Regions from separate parts of the Homo sapiens genome. Here regions 2, 3, 4, 5, 6 and 7 are each linked to region 1. Evidence: promoter capture Hi-C in 16 types of primary human blood cells and fetal thymus (Javierre and others, 2016). All regions are on one chromosome and are shown on one strand. The core of a region is centred on a gene start or on the middle of the fragment in contact, and the rest is flanking DNA. Distances in the headings are between cores, read along the strand shown. Region 1 holds the start of SRSF11 (serine and arginine rich splicing factor 11). Region 2 overlaps FUBP1 (far upstream element binding protein 1). Region 3 overlaps ZZZ3 (zinc finger ZZ-type containing 3). Region 4 has its middle 3.3 kb from the start of USP1. Region 5 overlaps FUBP1 (far upstream element binding protein 1). Region 6 has its middle 6.8 kb from the start of FUBP1. Region 7 has its middle 11 kb from the start of ZZZ3.

Region 1 (2,975 bases), core at 391-2,890:
GCCATAATTTGTAATTTTGCTGAGGCTCACATTCAGTCAACCCATCCATTTTCTGTATAAGCACTAGTGAAAGTCACTTAGCCAGTTGGCTCTACACCCAAATCTCAATAACCTTGTGCTCTAATCTCTCACATATTGCATCTTGACTGCATTGTGCCAAGAGGTATTCACTAATGTAGATACTCTGTAAGGCTTCAAGTTTGTTTGTTTGTTTTTACCTCCAAAACATCTAAAACTTTTACCTCTAAAAACATTCAAGGTCAAGTGAATTATTTAGTGAACTGTCTTAAATGCCATTGTCATTAAGGTATATTTGTGCGTGTGTCCAGCACATTCATTGGGACTGACTGTGTGACAGACATTGTGCCAGGTTCTGGACTGACCCAGGAAGCTCACAACTTTGAGTGATACATGTCAATAATAAATACATGTATCTTCTGTTACTTAGCAGAAAAGAGGAAGCCCTAACAGCTTGCAGAAGTCATAGCAGTGAGGGAAGGAATGCTCTACAGAAGATGACAGATAAGATGAGTGATGTTATTAATAACTTGTGTATCGGCACAGAGACATTATGGTTTTTGTCATGTTTGGGGCACTACAAGTCACTGGACTACACACTGGATGCAGTTGAGAGAATAGTTCAGATGAGGTTGAAAACAAAAGCAAGGATTTTTTTAATAGTCAAAAGCTTCAAAATTATTTTAAGCAAGAATATGTATGTGAAACAAGTTTTTCTTGAGAAATTGCAGTATTTTCTTTAGAAATATATACTTGAATATATTTAAGTACTATAAACTGTGTTTCCAAAGTCAGCTATTGTGGAATTGGCTGGGTGCAGTGGCTCACGCGCCTGTAATCCCAGAACTTTGGGAGGCCAAGGCGGGTGGATCACCAGAGGTCAGGAGTTGGAGACCAGCCTGGCCAACATGGTGAAACCCCATGTCTACTAAAAATACAAAACTTAGCCTGGCGTCGTGGCAGGCGCCTGTAATCCCAGCTACTCCCGAGGCCTAGGTAGGAGAATGGCTTGAACAGGGGAAGTGGAGGTTGCAGCGAGCCAAGATGGTGCCACTGCACTCCAGCCTGGGCGACAGGGCGACTCTGTCTCAAAAAAAAAAGTCATCCATTGTGAATGAATGTACAAAACGCTTATTAATAAGTGTAATATTAAAATATATCTTTTCTGAAAGTTTTAGTGACAAAACAAATTAGTTACAGATTTAATGTTACCAAAATTCATGTACATTGAAAATTTCGGGACATTTTATACTGGTGGTGGTGGGGTGGCATCTTAGCTTGGGTTTAAATATCATTAGTAATCGGATAGCTCTGTAGATGATTATCAGTATATAAAGACATCGTGAGCAGTATTTAATAAGAAGAGTTGCTGAAGTGACTTTTGCAGGAGGATGAATGCTTTTTTTAAAAAAAAAGTTTATACGTGCCTCTTCGCTCTTCCAAAAAAAAAAGAGAGAAGAAAAAGAAGAATAAAACGAGAGACGAAGGTGGATAACACCTTTCTCTAGACCCCGGTGCCTCTCATTTCTCGGGCTGCAGGCGACGGCTGCTGGGCCTGCGCGGGGTGGAGCCGACGCTGACGCGCCCTGCGCCGCAAAGCATTGTGGGAGCTCGGGCCCGCTAGTGTCGTGGTTGGAGGCGAGGTGGGGCGGCCGTTTGTTTTCTCGTGGTCTCGAGCTCGCGCGCTCTCATCCCCTCCCCCGCGGCGTGCGGCGGGGCGGAGAAACGGCGGCGGCGGCGGCGGCATCGGCAGCAGTAGCAGAGGCTGTAGCATCGGACACCCTCCTCTCTCCCGCAATCCGGTTCCTCTTCCCCCTCCTTCTCACTGTTTGTTGTGTGTTTGATGTGTTAAAGCAGGAGCGAGAACCCGAGCAGCGCCATGAGCAACACTACCGTCGTCCCCAGCACTGCAGGTCCGGGCCCCAGCGGCGGGCCCGGTGGCGGAGGTGGTGGTGGCGGCGGAGGCGGCGGCACCGAGGTAATCCAGGTGACTAATGTCTCCCCGAGCGCTAGCTCTGAGCAGATGCGGACTCTCTTCGGTTTCCTAGGCAAGATCGACGAACTGCGCCTCTTCCCGCCGGAGTGAGTATCGTCCACCATCACTGTTCCTGCTAACGCCGCCTCAGCCTGGGCCTAACACACACAATTTCCTTAGGCCCCTGTCGCTGCTTCCCCGGGCCAGGCTGCTTGAGTGGCTGGTGGCTGGTGGATTTACTTAAGACGGTTGTGTTCCAGGCCTACAAAAAAATGCAGAGAGGCAGGGCCAGGGCTTTTTGGAATTAGGAAACACTGGCTGTTATTCTCGGGAAATTTTTTTTTTCCGCCTTAAATTGTGCCAACGTGGTCGTTTGGCTTTGGGGACTTAACGCAAGACTAACCGCAGTCTGTACGTCGTATATAGGTTAAATCCCTTTTTTAAAAAACTGAGTATTTGTTCTTTGCGTTCTTGGAAGAAAGGTAACAAAATTATTCATGCCTGTGTTAATTTGGTGTTAAACTTTGTAGGTTGTTCACTTATTGTTATTGCTGTTATGTGGTTCTGGCCCAGCAATATAATTCAAAGATCATATTCTTTTTGACAGACGCTTAGTTTAGTGTGAGCCTGATTACTTAATTTGTATAATGTCAAAAAACGGGTTATAAACCAGAGATTTTCCTTTGTTTGAATAATATACAGATTTGTGATATTTCACAGTTGTTCTTGAGAAGGATTTTTATAAATGTTGAAATTTGAATTAGAGTGTATGACTTTTTATCCTTTTTGTCTCACTTTTATTTTGAAAATTATTTCTATCGCAAGAATATTAAGTGGATGAATTGTAAAGAAAAAATAGTTCAAAGAAGCTAAGAAGTAAGATAAAGTGTACTACTAAAACAGACAATTGGAATAATAATAATAGTCTTGTGCTTTTTGGAAGACTTATTGGTGGAGAAGTGACAATTCAAATGTCATTATC
Region 2 (2,700 bases), core at 165-2,664, 7.7 Mb after region 1:
GCCAACAGCAAATCTTGGAATGGGGACCTTATGTAAAAAAGACTAAGTATTAAGAAAGCTAGCTTCTCAGGGTTTAAAGTAAAAAAAAGTATTTTAAAAAAGCGCCATTTCCTGAAAATCTGCCTCAAATCATAAAAGTACATATAATTCTATATTTATAGTAAATAGGGTAACAAGATATATAGAATTCTGTATTCTAAAGTATAAAGGTGAAATAAAAGGATAACAATGTTAGAGCTACTTAACACAAAACAGAAAACACTATTATATTTATGAATTAGCATACAACCATTTCTGAATGGGTATTTTTACTTACATCTATCCCTTCATTTCCTCCTATTCTTGACCCATACTCATTCCGAACTTCTCTGAAACCGCCTTGATCACGAATTAACTCTAACACCATTTCCTTGGCTTGCTAAAGCAGAAAAAGTTAGCTAATTTAGAAAGCATGTCTCAAAACATTTTAATTATTCATGCATATTTTGCCCAACCCCATTCAACCCACTCTTTCTTTATAAAGTATAAAGTTAAGTTTACTTGAACTTTATATGGGTCTCCTGTAATCCTAAGAGGTTTGTCAGCACCAGTGTTCTGCGGCCCGTCTTGAATCATAACCATTTTAACTCCAGCCCGTTCCTGTTACAATCATAGAAATAATATATATTAACAAAAGGAAGTGGACAAAAATGGGCATCAAAACAGATCAAAAGTAGCCATTTCACAAAAATAACAATACCTGAAGCTGTTTAATAGTTTCTCCCCCTTTTCCAATGACTAATCCTGCCTTGCTAGCTGGAATCATGATTTCTTGAACTGCATTTCCCGGTCCATCGCCATGATGGAAGCCAGGAGCTGGTCTTCCTTTTTCAACAATCTGGTCCAGTAACCGTTTTGCTGACCTGTTAACAAATTAATATTTAAATAGTAAGCTGTAGCATACCCAAGCTTATTCAAATAGAGAAATATAAAACAATATAACCAAGTACTCCTCCTATCCCAGTTCAGGATTAGGTGCCTTGATGCTAACTTTAACAATGCTTTTACTTTTAACTGAAAGAAAATGCCATCAAGGGTCAAAGATTGAGAGATTATGCAAAAAAATTTTCTAGATATACAATTTTTATTTTTAAGAATAGTCCAAAATTTCCAAGAAAGAACTCTAATGCTAAAGTTATCTCAGAATTAAACTGATTCTTCCAAGAACTAAATGATTTATTTACATTTTTAAACTACCATTTTGCTTACTCATATGCTACAATTATTCATTCAACAAATATTTAAATATCAACTATGTGCAGGTGCTATTCTAGGTAATGGGGTAATAGCACTCAAAGAAACAGGGTTCCTGCTAGAGTGGCTTCATTTCATTAAATAAGTAAAAATAACATGTCAAATGAATAACACATTATTTGGAAAGTGCCATAAAGAAAATCAGGCTGGGGGAAGTGGCTCACGCCTGTAATCCCAGGACTTTGGGAGGCCGAGGTGGGTGGATCACGAGGTCAAGAGATTGAGACCATCCCGGCCAACATGGTGAAACCCTGTCTCTACTAAAAAAATACAAAAATTAGCTGGGTGTGGTGGCATGCACCGGTAGTCCCAGCTACTCGGGAGGCGGAGGTTGCAGTGAGCCGAGATCGTGCCCCTGCACTCCAGCCTGGCAACAGAGCGAGACTTCGTCTCAAAAAAAAGAAAAGAAAAAACCTAGTAATGAGGGAGAACTAACAATGCAGAAGAAAGTACAACTGCAAGCTGAACCTTCAGTAGGAAGAAAGGGCTGGCTTTAGGCACTCGAACACAAAAGGAAAGCAATTACCTGAGTACTATGTGAACAGAGGAAAAATGAAGGCTGGTAGGTTTAGTGGTAGGGAAAAAGAAAAGCTTCTTATCATTTGCTTCCATTTTCTCAGTAAATAAGCTTAAGTGGGAGAGCGTGGGGTTAGATGCTGAAGATTTGGAGGTGGGGAAATACAGTATTAAAGAGCCTGGGAGAGGAGTGGAAAAGTGAATGGAACTAGGGAAATGCAGGCAACACAACAGTCCACTTGAGCTTAATGTCTGAGTTTTAAGTGTCACCAGTCGACCTGACTGTGCATTCTTCTCCAGGCTACACGTGGCTTTACAAGTAGAGACTGGAGTAGATATGGAGTTGTTTTAACCATTTTCTGTGTTTAATGATTCAGATGATGAACCCCACCTGAGAAAGGCATGAGGCATAAACTTCAAAGGAGTTGGAGGACTTTGAGGGAAGGTGGCAGCGAAACCACAGTGTAAAATAAAGCAGTAACAAAGAGAAGAGACAAAATTCAAAGAGTTCTGCTGTTGTTACTTAAGTAGATTTTTAAGATTTTTCAAACTTACTGGACAGATTCAGGTGTTCCAGTTAACATACAGGACCTTTCTGGAAGGCCACCACTGTCTACAATTTAAAACAAACAGATAACTTCAGGTCAAAAGATTAAAAGTAGCATTATTGTTACTAGAAGGCTTAAAAAAAAAAAAAAGCTAGTTTTCTAGTCACACTGAAAATACCATGAGAATGTAACATTACCAGGAGCTATCTGTATTTTGCATCCAGATTCCTGTTGTATGCGTGAGATCTGTTCACCTCCTCTGCCAATTACTAGTTAGAAAAAAAAAAATTTTTTTTTTGGTTGAAAGATTCTAAAGTATGTTTTGATCATGTTTTCAAAACTT
Region 3 (2,769 bases), core at 33-2,532, 7.4 Mb after region 1:
GAAAACAACTGTCCCCTTCCCTCCTTCACTCATTCCTGTCAAGTCTTCCTTCTCCACAATAAGCACTCTCAATTCCTTCAAAGGTTCTCATGGGTTACCCTCCTCTTGACATATCTATCTTTTCATTTACTTTTCTTAAAGTGTAGCTTTCAGAAATAAGGCCAACATTGTAAATGTGTCCTAACCAACATGGAATGAATATCATATCCCTTATTATGGACAAAATCCTATTACTGCAGCCTGGTACTTCATTTGTTTTTTCTTTTTTAAGCAACTCACCAGTTGGATGTCTGAGACTATATAAAACTAAACTCCTAATAATATACAATCAGTAAACCCTATTTTTTTTTTTTTGAGACGGAGTTTCGCTTTTGTTGCCCAGGCTGGAGTGCAATGGCGCGATCTTGGCTCACCGCAACCCTCCACCTCCCGGGTTCAAGCGATTCTCCTGCCTTAGCCTCCTGAGTAGCTGGGATTACAGGTGCGTGCCACCACGCCTGGCTAATTTTTGCATTTTTAGTAGAGACGGGGTTTCATCATATTGGTCAGGCTGGTCTCGAATTCCTGACCTCAGGTGATCCGCCCGCCTCAGCCTCCCAAAATGTTGGGATTACAGGTGTGAGCCATGGCACCCGGCTAATAAACCCTACTTATTCTATCACCAAAATGTCTTGGAAAAAAAAAAAAACAAACTATCTACTCTTTCTGTTCTATTGTTATTGCTCCAGCTCAGGCCATCATCATTCTATTTAAACAACTGTAGTAGCCTAATTAATCTCTCATTCCAATTTACTCTTTATTTGCCCACAAATATATCTGTCTTAATAAACACTGTCCTGAATCTGATTTTTCAGTACCTTAAAGAAGAATGGGGAGGGAAAGAAAGGAGATGACTTTCTCCCCTCTTCAATTCCTAGAAAACTCTTATTCCTCAAAGGCCAATTCAATGATCCATCAGAATTAACTACTCTCTCCTTTGCTCCCATAATGCTTAATAATCCTATCATAAAATTACAATGTATAGTTTGATATATCTATATTCCCCATTCAATTATAGGCTCCTCGAAGGAATAGAGCAATACATTTTTTATTCTCTTAGTACATACAGTGCCTTAACATTAATTGAACAAAATTTTACTCATGTAATTTTTTCTATCTGAATTCCATATTTTTTTAATTCCACACTTTTAAGCAGCTCACACTATAGGTTTCTGCCTGTAGTTTCAGACAGAACTTACAAGTTGTTTTAGTTATCCTTGCCAGCTAAATTGTTCTGACATTTTATAAGCACAACTGTACATTTATTCAAAACATTAATGAAAATATTAAAAATGGACAACAAAAAGTACCTTTTTAGATACTTCTCTCAAAGTCTGACATTAATTCCTTCTAACAGTATTTAAGAAAGTTTATTTTACACTATTAATGAAATGTTCTTAATGCTGATGAGCTAAGCCTGTACTTCTCTGCCTCTTCTCCAAGGCATACCTAGGAAAACAATCTCCAAAACTACTGGTTTCCTTTTTAAAAATAAGACCTTATGCTGTTTCTAGTCTTCTGGCATACTTTTTGTTACAACAAATTAACAAAAGCTATCAATACCTCTCAGTTCCTTAATGTCTTTAAATGATCTAAAACCTGTGCTATCAGCCAGACAGAAAATGGATTCCTGGAATCCAATCAAGTGGTGAAATAATCTGGGTGAGGTTTACAAAACTTGATCTGGCAATAGAGTTAAAAAGCAATTACAAAACAATTACAAAAGGTCTTAAACTTCAATTCAGAAGAAACCAACATCAACTTAGAGTTCCACTGTTACCATACAGACAATTTTTACTGACAGTTCATTATGTCCATCTGTGACATGAGAAAAACCACCTAGACAAAGACAGCTTCCAAGGCCAATGTCAAGCTGATAAACAGCCTGTCAAGAGATGGTAACTGAACTGTGGACATAAAGTATGTCACAGGAATCTCAACTTGCTGAAGACAGCAAAACTGTTCCCGAAGGTAAGTGACTGCCCAACGTCCATGATTAATTAGAATATTGAAATTACGTATATCAAACTCATGATACTAATACTGTGTGGTTTAAAACTATCCTAAATATTTTTAAGTTCCTATAGACAATGATAGTTTCTAAATTTAAAATAGTAACTGACTTCACGCTTATGATTTTAAGTTTAAAAGTGTATGAATATTTAGCTTGGTTAATAAGAATACTGGAATGTTTAAGAAAATTTGTGATTCACTGTCTCATTCATTAAATTTAAAATTTTTATATTTACCAATTATAACTCAATAAAGCTAGAGAAAATATAAAATTTTAAAGTTTTAAAGTATTTGGGAAGCCAGGTGTGGTGGCTCATACCTGTAATCCCAGCACTTTGGGAGGCCGAGGCGGGCGGATCACCTGACGTCAGAGTTCAAGACCAGCCTGGCCAACATGGCAAAACCCAGTCTCCACTAAGATAAAAAAATCAGCCAGGCGTGGTGGCACACGCCTGTAATCTCCGCTACTCAAGAGGCTGAGGCAGGAGAATCGCTTGAACCCAGAAGGCGGAGGGTGCCGTGAGCCGAGATTGCGCCAGTACACTCCAGCCTGGGAGAGACAGCGAGACTCCATCTCAAAAATAAATAAAGTATTTGGGAAAATCCTACTTGTTGAAATTTACTCCACAAGGAATAGTGCTTAAAACTAAAACAGTATATCAAACGTATATACGGAATGTAATTAAGTTAAGCAGCAGTAGCAGTGGTAATAGCTAA
Region 4 (2,766 bases), core at 4-2,503, 7.8 Mb before region 1:
CACCATACTAATCTAGACTGCCTACTTCTGCATTATGTATACATGATAAAGACATGAATATTAATTTTAGCTAAGGACACTTAAAAATATTCTGTTACTTATAAACAAACCTATTCCTATCGGATGCAGAGTTTGGTTCCTATAAATTTGTGCTACACATAACCTTAAAAGAAATGTGGTTTTTAGTGGAAGCATTTGGGCAGTGGGTGGTAAAGACTCAGATACTGCAAGATGGAAAACTGGTGACCTTTGTTCTCCAGTTGCCAGACATTTGGTAAACCTGTTGCCAGCTTTAGAAGACAGATCACACGCCAATCAAAATTGTGGCACGAAGGGAAATGGCTGGAAATATCTATAAACTTGGTATTTGCTGGCTTTTTCTTGACACTTTAAACCAAGTTCTATGAGATATGAATTCAGGCCAGAAGTAACCAATTTGCATGTAGAAATGGAAAAGAATACAGTTTTGCTAAAGGAGAAATTCTGCTGTAATCCAAGTGGATTAAAAGTCTCATAATTTGGGCGGGACGTGGTGGTTCATGCCTGTAATCTCAGCACTTTGGGAGGCCGAGGCGGATCACGAGGTCAGGAGTTCGAGACTAGCCTGGCCAACACTGTGAAACCCCGTCTCTATTAAAAATACAAAAATTAGCTGGGCGTCGTGGCAGGCACCAGTAATCCCAGCTACTTGGGAGGCTGAGGCAGGAGAATTGCTTGAACCCAGGAGGTGGAGGTTGCAGTGAGCCAAGATCATGCCATTGCACTCCAGCCTGGGGGACAGAGCAAGACTCCATCTCAAAAAAATAAAAATAAAAGTTTCATAATTTGAAGATTTAAAGGGCGGAAAAAAACCACACTTCTTCTATACCTTTAGACTGAAGTACAGTTGGCCCTCCACATTCATGGGTTCCATATACATGGATTCAACCAACCACAGATCAAAAAATCTTATGAAAAAGGTACACAAAGTTCCAAAAAGCAAAACTTGAATTTGCCACGTGCCAAGTGTTAAATACTATGTTAAATCCATGTGAATGATGTGTAGGCATTGTATTAGGTAATTAAGTAATCTAGAGATGATTTAAAGTATAGGTGGGATGTGCATAAGTTGTATGCAAATACTATGCCATTTTATATATGGGACTTGAGCATCCTCGGATTTTGATATCCATAACGGTCCTGGAACCAATCCCCCATGGATACCAAGGGATGACTGTACACAGAAACAGTGCCTGTGAAACTTTGGAAGGAAATATGCCTGGCATTTACCCACACAAGACTGACAAATATAGGATTGAGAATGCTGTGAACCTATTAAATCCCATTGTTTCCAAAGGGATTAGCTGTCATTAAGAGTGGGGTAACTGGGGAGCACACAGAAACTGGGAAAAAAGTTTCGGGGCTTAAAAACTCATCTAGGCAAGAACTGTGGCTAGAATTTCTCCCACAAACAACTGACTGAAAGCAAAAGAATGAGAAGCATATTAAATTTTTACATTAATCATATTGCCAGAGACACACCAAACTTCTGCTATTGCTGTTGACAAGCACAGTTGTGGAGGTGTTTGATTTTTCTGAAGCAGCATTAGCAGAAACCTCAGTGTCTAGCCACTTGTCCTGTGGGCCTTGACAGACGGGACGTAGGATATGCATGGCACTGGTGCAGATCATAGTGGGTATAGTGTGGTTCTAGGGTCAGCGGTGCACGCAGCTTTCTGATGGTGGTTTCCTAGGCATGGCAGCAGCAGTGTGATTCAGAGACGTCATTTCCTGATCATAGAAGAGTCATTGCTTCCTTGGTGGCCTGGTTCTGGGAAGACTTTGGGACTCATTCCTGAAAAACTAATCTAGAGCCTATTTAATCAACCCTCCCAAGTATTCAATATCTTTGTGTTTATACTAGCTAAAATGGATTCTATTTTCCGCAAATGAATCTTAACTGATACCACACATTGTGTACAGGAAGAATAGTGGCTGCAGACAATAGGATCTCAGGAATATGGGAAAGTAGAATTGCTTATCTGTTCTCGTAGAGTTTGAAAGTAGCAATAATTATGCTAGTACTAGAAAATGAGACACTGCCACTCTGTGGTGCACAATGGCTAAGACTGACCTATATACATTTTCTAATCTTGTCCTTGTGTATTTCGTGATCTGCTGGTTCAACATCTGTTTGTACGTTAAACACCTCAATCTTAATATTCTAAGAACGATGATCCTTCCCATTGAGCCTACTAAGACCCCCATTTTAGCAAGGACCAACACTGAGTTGCTCAGGTTAAAAAAAAAATCGTTACTCTTTGTTTTTTTTTCTTTTTTCGGGTGGGAGGGTGGAGGGCAGGGCCTCACACTGTTGCCCAGGCTGGAGTGCAGTGGTGCATCTCGGCTCACTGCAGCCAGGGGATCCTCCTCCCTCATCCTCCCGAGTGGCTGGGACTACAGGCACGTGCCACCACGCACGGCCAATTTTTGGAGTTTTTTGTAGCGATGGGTCTTGCCATGTTGCCCAGGCTGATCTTGAACTCCTGGGTTCAAGCGGTCCACCGGCCCTGGCTACCCGACCTGTTTTTTCTTACATTATCATACAGCCAATCCATCAGTAGAGCTCGTTGGCTGTGCTCAAAATATATCTTGAACCCTACCAGTTTTCAACATCCCACCATCTTATTCCAGACTACCATAATTTATTCCTTGGCTTATTGAACCAGCATCTTGGCTGACCTTTCCGCTGGTACTTTTCTTTTTTTGAGACAGAGTTTTGCTCTG
Region 5 (2,889 bases), core at 207-2,706, 7.7 Mb after region 1:
CTGATTTTACTGGCAGAGTATTCAAACAAATAAAATGCTATCACTTCTGAATGACTCCCCTTTCCCTCTGAAAGTACTCTGCTATTCCTACCCAAACCCACCCTTATGAATTAACTACCAAGATAATTTGTTTAAAAGATATATTTTACAATGTTTATAAACAACTAGTATCAAATTACTAGTTTTAGTATTAAAACCATTTTTTATATTAAAAAATAAAACTATACTTCTCATTTCTAAAAGAAACATCAAACCATAGAATTCTAAGTATCACCACACTAAGCTGTCTTAAAAAAAACTAAAAACATTGTCAAATTTTTGTTTAAGTGCTAAATAAGTCAGTTCAGTTTCAATCTAAACTATACATTGTTTCTAACACTAATATCCAATGCATTCAAATCAACTGGCTCACCTTTTCTGCTTTCCATTTATTTCAGACTTAAGATCAGCGTCATTTAAAATAATGCTTATAGTATCAGTGAAGGCTTATGGTAATGAATAAAAGAATTCTCATGAGACAGAAACAATGCCCCAATATCTATTATCATCAATCTATCTGTATTTTTTTTTATAAAAATGCAATCTACAACTAACCAAAACTCAACAGGCTCTCAAGTTTCAATGAGCCCCTTTATATTATCAATTGTACATACCTATCATTGACTATTAAAACATAACATACACATAAATGTGGTGTAGTAACTATGTAACTTAAGAAATTTAACAGTTCATGGAACATTTAAGATCAAGTGAATAGCACTTTAAAATGAAAAGTGATCAAAAGCAGGTACATTACACCCTATACCATATTATGTATGGGAATACATTTCATATTTCTCAATTATGATTTGCCAATTTTACCTTCTACATTGAGCCCTTCTATGGTCCATGCTCATCGGCTCACCAATGGCATACACTCAAAGGATTCCTCTTTATGGGTAACTATCTCAGGACCTGATTTTATGAGCTATGATTTGGTGCTTGCAGCATCTTCAGCACTGTGTGTGAAAATGAAGGCAGTATTTTTGAATATTTTTCTTTGTTGCAGAGATAAGCAGGAGTTTTAAAAGGATCAGCACATTTTAGAAATCGAATAAACAAAACTGATAAGATGCTGCTTTCATACATTCAACTTAACTCAAAATATGTACCAGTTAAAATCATCTATAAAAACACACAAACATTTTAAACTGGCAAAAAAATTAAATGCAGCGTCAGTTATTAAAATATTATTAAATCAGAAAAATACTGATTGCTACAGATTATGAAAGGTTATTTGCTATACAGTTAACATTTCACTGATGCACATGCCTTTTATCAAAACATACTGCCTTATAACTTTTTCCTTCTTCAGCATATAACTTTTGTCTAAGAAAAAAATCATAATAAAATTCTAACCCATAATATCCTTACTGAATTATTATAGTTTAAGAATAAGAAAAAAATAAAGAAATTATAATTTTGGAGGGCAAAGAAATTTTCTGTCCATCATATAAAACAGATTGTGAAGGCTGTTGAAGTTTCTAAACAAGTGATTTCCTAAATCTTGAAAACTGTGTAATTGTCCTTTCTTAATATTAACACTTCTATATTTGGGGAAAAAATACAAAAAGATTTGGATGTAGTTCAATTACTGCAGCAATCTACTCATCATTTTCTTGTCTTAATAAAAAAAAAAAAGTAAAATAAAAAACATTACCCAGAAATGTAAACAGTTGCTTTAACAACTTACAGACTTTCCACTAAGATGGTAGCATAAAATAACAAAATACATTTTGGGGAAGCAGTAGCAGATTGCCTTTGAATACACAACCACAAAAACCTCACAGGGACAACATTAATGTATTGAAATATTTATTTATATATGTCCTTAGGTTGTGCTTACCTGGTGCTTTTTGCAGCAGAACCTAAGGTGGAAGGTCTGGGAAGGCACTGTGAAGTATAAATAATTGCACTGTTTGCAATTAATAAAGATTTTAAACCTTAAATGAATCAAAATCAACAGCCTCCAATTTGTGAATTATGATACTGAATTCAACTGAACTACTTCTTCAGTTCAATTAATAAATGCACCACTTTCCTAAAAGGTCATCTATAAAACAGTATCATGCAAAATACTGCAATTGTTCACGTCAATACCCTACTCTTAAAGATAACAAATAGCTAACTCCTTAACTATTAAACTTCATACTAGAACTATATATGCAGATCTAAATAAGGGTAAGGGAAGTCACTCTAGGTTATATAAAACAATCAAAAACATTTCAAAATATCTACAATGAACTGTACTGCTATTTCCATCCTGTAGGTAATCTCAACATTTATGTCCTTGTACCTCTTCCTTTAAAGTATATTCAAAACAACAAATGGTGCTCTCCACCAATGACAAAATATATATTTATGAAATGTGTTAAAATTGCTACATTGCTCATTATTTGCAAACTGAAATCCCCTTCTGTCTGATACATTTCAAGACTTTCATATTAAATATAGAAGATATGCATATTTTACACTGAAAAACAATATTTTAGGAGCACCAGTGAATAATACTATTCAACTTTGTTAAGTATCAGTTTTCTTTAGCTATAGCTAAAGCATATAAAAAATACTTACCCATTAAGCTCACTTTAAAAAAAATACAGAACTATGTATTATTCTATGTTAAATTAAGAGGCAGTTATGGTTTTCCAAGATATCAGCACTGTATTCCAACATAATATTCACACAACGTATGGCATTTGCATTATGTGGAACATTGACAAAAAGATACTGTTGCAGTTCATCAATTTGTCATTCTGATGTACTTACAGTGCAATGCTCCTTGAAGGAACACAATCAAGGATGATACACAGCACAGTCCTCCTCACCCCTACAGAGCTAGTTCTATAC
Region 6 (2,700 bases), core at 146-2,645, 7.8 Mb after region 1:
CTACTCATCAAGATTTGAAAACTACCCTTTTACACAAAACATATTTAATATTTGAGGAATTAAAGTGAATTAAATTTTGTTTCCCTGGCTAGATTGTAGTAAATGTTATGAATACAGAAATTTTGTCTTCTCCCTTTTCCCCTCCTCTGTATAAAAGAGGGCTTGTCAAGGACCGCGTCTTATTCTTTGGTTTGCCCAGTATGCTTTTATGTTGGTAAAAGTTTAATAAATATCAAGTTGAATTCTTTATTCCACTTATCATTTTCCTACAAAGCTACATATGATTATGAATGTGGAGGGCCTTTGAGGCCAGATGGCACTGAAGGGTAGTTTCACACAAACTTTTCTTAGAATATCAGTCTTGGAAAGACCTTGAAGGTAATCTCGCCCATTTGTTTCATTTTATATTGGAGGAAACCATAACACAGATTGCTGAGTGCCTTCTACAAAGTGCCAAGATTAATTGCAGAGCCAAGACTAGATTTCTAATCCAGTGCTCTTTATTTTGTGAACTGTCTTCTATATGAAGCATCGGTGTTTGGGTTGGAGGTTTTCTGCTTCTTAGGTACAAGAGGAAGAAGAATCTGTACAGAACCAAAAACATCTTAATTTTTGTAATCAGGATGTCTACCTTTACTGACAACATTTACTGACAACATTTCCTTCTGAAAATAGGTTATTGAAAGATCAAGGATCTTTGCCAGTGAAATCCTTAACTGGAAGTGGGTGGGTACAAGATAGAAAACTCATTTGGTATAACAATTTTGTTGTTTTTTAGTGGAACCTTGCTTCTCTGTTCTGACATTTCCATGTCTCTATTTATAGTAGTGATCTCTTTGGAATTTGCCTTCTGATTCCATTTGTTCCTTTATGTTGCTTCATATTAACTGATATTCTCACTTCATTTAAAAAAAATTTGAAGGGACATGTACTTAAGAAAAAGGAATTAATTTTTTTATAAGAAATATCTGGAGGTACTATTTTTCTATGGTTTATCATAATCATTGTTTATGCCAGGTTATCTAATTGTAGCAATAATATAAATACTATTTTTTCAAGCAAGAATGTTAGTTTTAAAAAATTTATGTGCATATTAAGCTTTAGACACCTTTTATCCAGGACAGATATTACCTTTAGATTCTTAACAACCTTGCTCCTTAACTATGCACTTTGATATAAATGAAGATTGAGAGGTTTTAGTTAGAGCTTTTAAGTGGTAAACGGTCAAGGGCAGGAGCTATCTTATTTACCTTTGAGATGACAATAATGCCTGGCATCTAGTAGGTCCTAATTAATCTATTCATTTATTCAATTCAACAAAAATTCTGGGCATTGTTCTAAGTGCTAGAGATACAGTAGTAAACAAAATAGACATATATCTCACCGTCTTGTCTTGAGCATGCTAGTGAGTGAAGGTGGATTGAAACCATGGATCACTTTGCAGAGACTCCCTATTGTTTTCAGACAATTATTTGTATCAGTCTAACCAATAATATCCTGTAGCTAATTAAGCAATGGTTTGAAGAGTCAGAATGGGAGAAGCTGAATGATCAGATAGATCATTCATTCATTAAACATTTAATTTCCTAGTGTATGTTAAATTATTTGAAACAAGCTAGTGAATGTGAGTCATTGTCATCCCAATTGTCAGCCTGATTCTTGTGCTCTGTTTATATCTTGGGGTAAAGACTTCAAGCTTCTGGCCAGGTTACAGCCCGGGAACTTCATCTCAGATCACATACCACTGAATCCTAAGTGCATAAAATAATGTGTGCCATGTAGTAAATATTACTACATTAATCCTTAACTACTCGAAATGCAATTTCCTCACTACTTATGGCCACAGCCTGCATCTAGTCTTCATCCAGACAACTCAAACAATAAAAATCTTCAAGTCTGATATTCTCCTCAAGATGACCTCTTGTCAGTTTGTTTCCTAATGTACTTCTTCCGTTCCTCTAGTCTCTTGACACTTCTCTTTTCTTTCCATCTCTTACTTGCTGGCTTTCCTTCTTTGCCATTCACGTCAGTAATTCTCAACTCCCACTCCCCTTTGTCTTTTAGTTGTGTCCATTCTTTAAATCAACAACTCTTAATCAGTTCAAATTGACTTTGGAGTCGGATGAACTTCAAATCACCATTTGCTACTTCAGTGACCTTGCCAAATTCTTTAACCTTTTTTGAGTTTGTTTACTCCTTGTCACCCTAAGCATTGTTTTGAAAATTAAATGAGATTATTGTATCCAGATACTTTTGACCACAAGTAATGAAAACCCTTATTAAATGGCTTAAATAATAAAAAATCCAGGGGTAGAGTGGCTCTAAGGCTGGTTGATGAGCAGCTCAACAATTTATGAGGTACCCATGTTTTTTTCATCTTTGCCTTCTACCACCCTCAGCTTCTTGACTTTACTCCCCTAATGATTGCATAATGGTTGCCACAGTTCCAGGTGTCATGCAGTCATGATTGTTAAATGGAAGGGGAAAGTTTCTGCTACCAGTGTCCCTACCCTCCACCCCTGCCACAACTGCCAATCTTATTAACCTTGTCCTGACCAGAGTTGAGTCACAGGCTTACTCTATCAAGTGTCATACTGGCTTAGAATAATTAGGATTCATCTCAGGGGTGAGGGAGAGGCCCCACTTTCCTAGTAATAGTTATTCTTACTACTGCATTTGTGAGTGCTAGGACTCAATCCT
Region 7 (2,836 bases), core at 196-2,695, 7.5 Mb after region 1:
ACTACATTTAGGTAAAATGTACACCGCTCGAGTGACTAGTGCACCAAAATCTCAGAAATCACTGCTAAAGAACTTATCCATGTAACCAAAAACCACCTGTACCCCAAAACTATTGAAATTTAAATATAAAAAGTTATCTTGCTTCTCTTCTCTTCATAGATTCAGATTCAACATTTTTGACAGGACTCTTACATAAATAATGTTGCATCCTTAGAAATTACACATTTTGGGCCTAGCACGTGGTGGCTCACGCCTGTAATCCCAGCACTTTGGGAGGCTGAGGCGGGTGGATCACTTGAGGTCAGGAGTTTGAGACCAGCCTAACCAACATGGTGAAACCCCGTCTCTACTAAAAATACAAAAATTAGCCAGGCATGGTGGCGTGCACCTGTAGTCCCAGCTACTCGGGAAGCTGAGGCAGGAGAATTGCCTGAACCTGAGAAGCAGAGGTTGCAGTTAGCAGAGATCACGCCACTGCACTCCAGCATGGGCGACAGAGAGACTCCATCTCAAAAAAAAAAAAAAAAGAAATTACACATTTTGAAAAGGAGAAAGAGAATGATGAATTACATCACCGAGTGCCAATTATGTTGTATATATTATATATAATACACATAATTATCATAATCCTATGATTAAGTGTGGCAGCCATGAAGATTGCTGTTCAGACCCCTCTTCCAGAAAGCACTTGCTGCGCAGCTGAGAGGAAGAGGGTTGGGTAACAACCTCTGTTAGCTCCATCAGGGTCAAGCTGAGTGTATTCTCCTTTCCAGGTAGCCACTAGTCAGTGACAGAACAAGGCCTAGTGACAGTACAAGGACCTAGTCATTTCTGCCCAATGCAGGGCTCCTCCAATGGGTAATCTTAGCTCCATATTGCCTTATGGAGACCTGGCAGAGAATTTGTCAGGTCTGCATCATTCTGGTTACTCCTCCTGCTCAATCCTGTTTCTCTCATTTCTTTCATCTGTGTTATTCCCCAACAAATCATATGCATGCATTAACACTATCTCAGTGTCTGCTTCCTGGAAAGCCCAAACTACAACATTCTCATTTAGCAAATGAAGAAAACTGGAAATCAGAGAACTTTAAATATTGTTCCAAATCATAGTTAATATAGCTACTAGGACTTGAATTTAAACAAATGGACTTCAGGGCCTCAAAAGTAATCACCTTCATATTATAAATCAAGACTCTTTTTTCTTTTTTTTTTTAGATGGAGTTTTGCTCTTGTTGCCCAGGCTGGAGTGCAGTGGCACGATCTTGGCTCACTGCAACCTCTGCCTCCCGGGTTCAAGCAATTCTCCTGCCTCAGCCTCCCAAGTAGCTGGGATTACAGGCGCATGCCACCACGCCAGCTAATTTTGTATTTTTAGTAGAGATGGGGTTTCACCATGTTGGTCAGGCTGGTCTCAAACTCCTGACCTCAAGTGATCCACCCACCTTGGCCTCCCAAACTGCTGGGATTACAGGCATGAGCCACCACACCTGGCCTATAAATCAATAGACTCTTAACACATATAGGCTCTCACTAGCCTTTGATTGCAATTTTCCTAATTCTCAGCTTATTTCCAGGAAAATCATCCTTAGAGAAACTATTTATTTTATCCCACATCTGTCAACACATAGATCAATTTTTAGCTATGAGTCTATGGTATTGCTAGACCTTTACTGAACATATTATGTATTTTGACAATTATAATGTAAAAAAAATTGGCCGGTCATGGTGGTTCACGCCTGTAATCCCAACACTTTGGGAGGCCAAGGCGGGTGGATTGCTTGAGTTCAGGAGATCGAAACCAGCCTGGGTGACATGGCAAAATGCTGCCTCTACAAAAAATACAAGAATTAGCTGGGTGTGGTGGCATATTCTTGTAGTTCCAGCTACTCAGGATGCTGAGGTGGGAGAATTGCTTGAGCCCAGGAGGTCGAGGTCGCATGTGAGCTGAGATTGCACCACTGCACTCCAGCCTGAGCGACAGAGTGAGACCCTGTCTCGAAAAAACTATTAAAAAAAAATATATATATATATATATATATATAAGCTCTTAGGGACCAGTATCTTTATCTTATTATATATCCCAATAACAGACACTACTGATATGACTGATACCACAACCAGTTTCAAAGGAATTCATTGGGGATTACATTATGGTAAATAATTTTCTGACTACTAGTCTCAATTTAAAATAGGCTCTTTATTATATAAAGCCATGAGTTGGAGTCCTGTATCTGCCACTTCTTTGCTGTATGACTTTGGGCAAACCATTTAACCTATATCATAGAGTTGTTAGGAGGATTAAATATAAGGAAATAACTTTAGTAAAATGACTGAAACATTCTAAGTTTCAATAAATAACAATCATTAAAATCAAATCTTTTTTGACTAACCACTAAATACTAGACAATACACTAAATTCTGGTGATTCACAAAAAATCAGTAACATTCAGACCTTGAGGAAGATCATATTTTACTATAGTAGAATCATATTTTACTATATATTTTTTAAAACTTCAAATAGATCTTAAATGGCTGCTTATTAAAATTCATTTCATTAAACATCAAAATTTTACTACACTGATTACCAGCCCAAGCAATAAAGTCAGACTTTACAAAAAATAAAACAAATTATCCAGGTGTGGTGGTGCACACCTGTGGTCTCAGGTACTCAGGAGGCTGAGGTGGGAGGATCGCTTGATCCCAGGAGATGGAGACTGCAGTGAGCTGTATTCAACGCCAGGCACTCCAGTCTGGGTGACAGAGCTCGAGAGACCCTGTCTAAAAAAAAAATAAAATAATAAATAAAAACCAACTTTACTAGACTGAATGACTTGTT

What was found. Contacts are between HindIII fragments. The CHiCAGO score rates a contact against its expected background, and 5 or more counts as called.
Region 2: a contact is called between a fragment that was not itself captured here and the fragment with the promoter of SRSF11 in region 1, in 6 of 17 cell types (total CD8 T cells, naive CD8 T cells, monocytes and 3 more). The highest score is 12.3, in total CD8 T cells.
Region 3: a fragment that was not itself captured here is called in contact with the fragment with the promoter of SRSF11 in region 1 in 1 of 17 cell types (total B cells); the score reaches 9.4 in total B cells.
Region 4: a contact is called between a fragment that was not itself captured here and the fragment with the promoter of SRSF11 in region 1, in 4 of 17 cell types (naive CD8 T cells, non-activated CD4 T cells, total CD8 T cells and 1 more). The highest score is 12.4, in naive CD8 T cells.
Region 5: a fragment that was not itself captured here is called in contact with the fragment with the promoter of SRSF11 in region 1 in 4 of 17 cell types (total CD8 T cells, total CD4 T cells, naive CD8 T cells and 1 more); the score reaches 15.8 in total CD8 T cells.
Region 6: a fragment that was not itself captured here is called in contact with the fragment with the promoter of SRSF11 in region 1 in 1 of 17 cell types (total B cells); the score reaches 5.6 in total B cells.
Region 7: a fragment that was not itself captured here is called in contact with the fragment with the promoter of SRSF11 in region 1 in 1 of 17 cell types (naive CD8 T cells); the score reaches 5.6 in naive CD8 T cells.

The regions. Positions count from the first base shown.
Region 1 is chr1:70,219,740-70,222,714 of GRCh38, forward strand. It overlaps SRSF11 (serine and arginine rich splicing factor 11), which reads left to right and starts at 1,641. Exons shown (of 12, transcript NM_001350605.2): 1 at 1,641-2,100. The coding sequence starts at 1,898. RefSeq lists an enhancer at 1,535-2,080 and a silencer at 1,976-2,025. The HindIII fragment of the contact is 2,724 bases long and covers 687-2,975 here.
Region 2 is chr1:77,964,330-77,967,029 of GRCh38, forward strand. It overlaps FUBP1 (far upstream element binding protein 1), which reads right to left. Exons shown (of 20, transcript NM_003902.5): 6 at 2,555-2,626; 7 at 2,365-2,422; 8 at 740-902; 9 at 541-639; 10 at 317-418; 11 at 1-27. Among named protein-coding and RNA genes, the nearest start is that of FUBP1, 13 kb to the right of the region's middle. RefSeq lists a silencer at 1,287-1,489. The HindIII fragment of the contact is 936 bases long and covers 947-1,882 here.
Region 3 is chr1:77,663,412-77,666,180 of GRCh38, forward strand. All of the region lies in intron 1 of ZZZ3 (zinc finger ZZ-type containing 3), which reads right to left. Among named protein-coding and RNA genes, the nearest start is that of ZZZ3, 18 kb to the right of the region's middle. The HindIII fragment of the contact is 7,724 bases long and covers 1-2,769 here.
Region 4 is chr1:62,432,351-62,435,116 of GRCh38, forward strand. No RefSeq gene overlaps it. Among named protein-coding and RNA genes, the nearest start is that of USP1, 3.3 kb to the right of the region's middle. The HindIII fragment of the contact is 3,951 bases long and covers 1-2,766 here.
Region 5 is chr1:77,944,645-77,947,533 of GRCh38, forward strand. FUBP1 (far upstream element binding protein 1) reads right to left here. Exons shown (of 20, transcript NM_003902.5): 20 at 1-2,889. Among named protein-coding and RNA genes, the nearest start is that of FUBP1, 33 kb to the right of the region's middle. The HindIII fragment of the contact is 3,321 bases long and covers 1-2,889 here.
Region 6 is chr1:77,984,492-77,987,191 of GRCh38, forward strand. It overlaps a transcript of DNAJB4 not described here. Among named protein-coding and RNA genes, the nearest start is that of FUBP1, 6.8 kb to the left of the region's middle. The HindIII fragment of the contact is 598 bases long and covers 1,097-1,694 here.
Region 7 is chr1:77,692,545-77,695,380 of GRCh38, forward strand. No RefSeq gene overlaps it. Among named protein-coding and RNA genes, the nearest start is that of ZZZ3, 11 kb to the left of the region's middle. The HindIII fragment of the contact is 7,698 bases long and covers 1-2,836 here.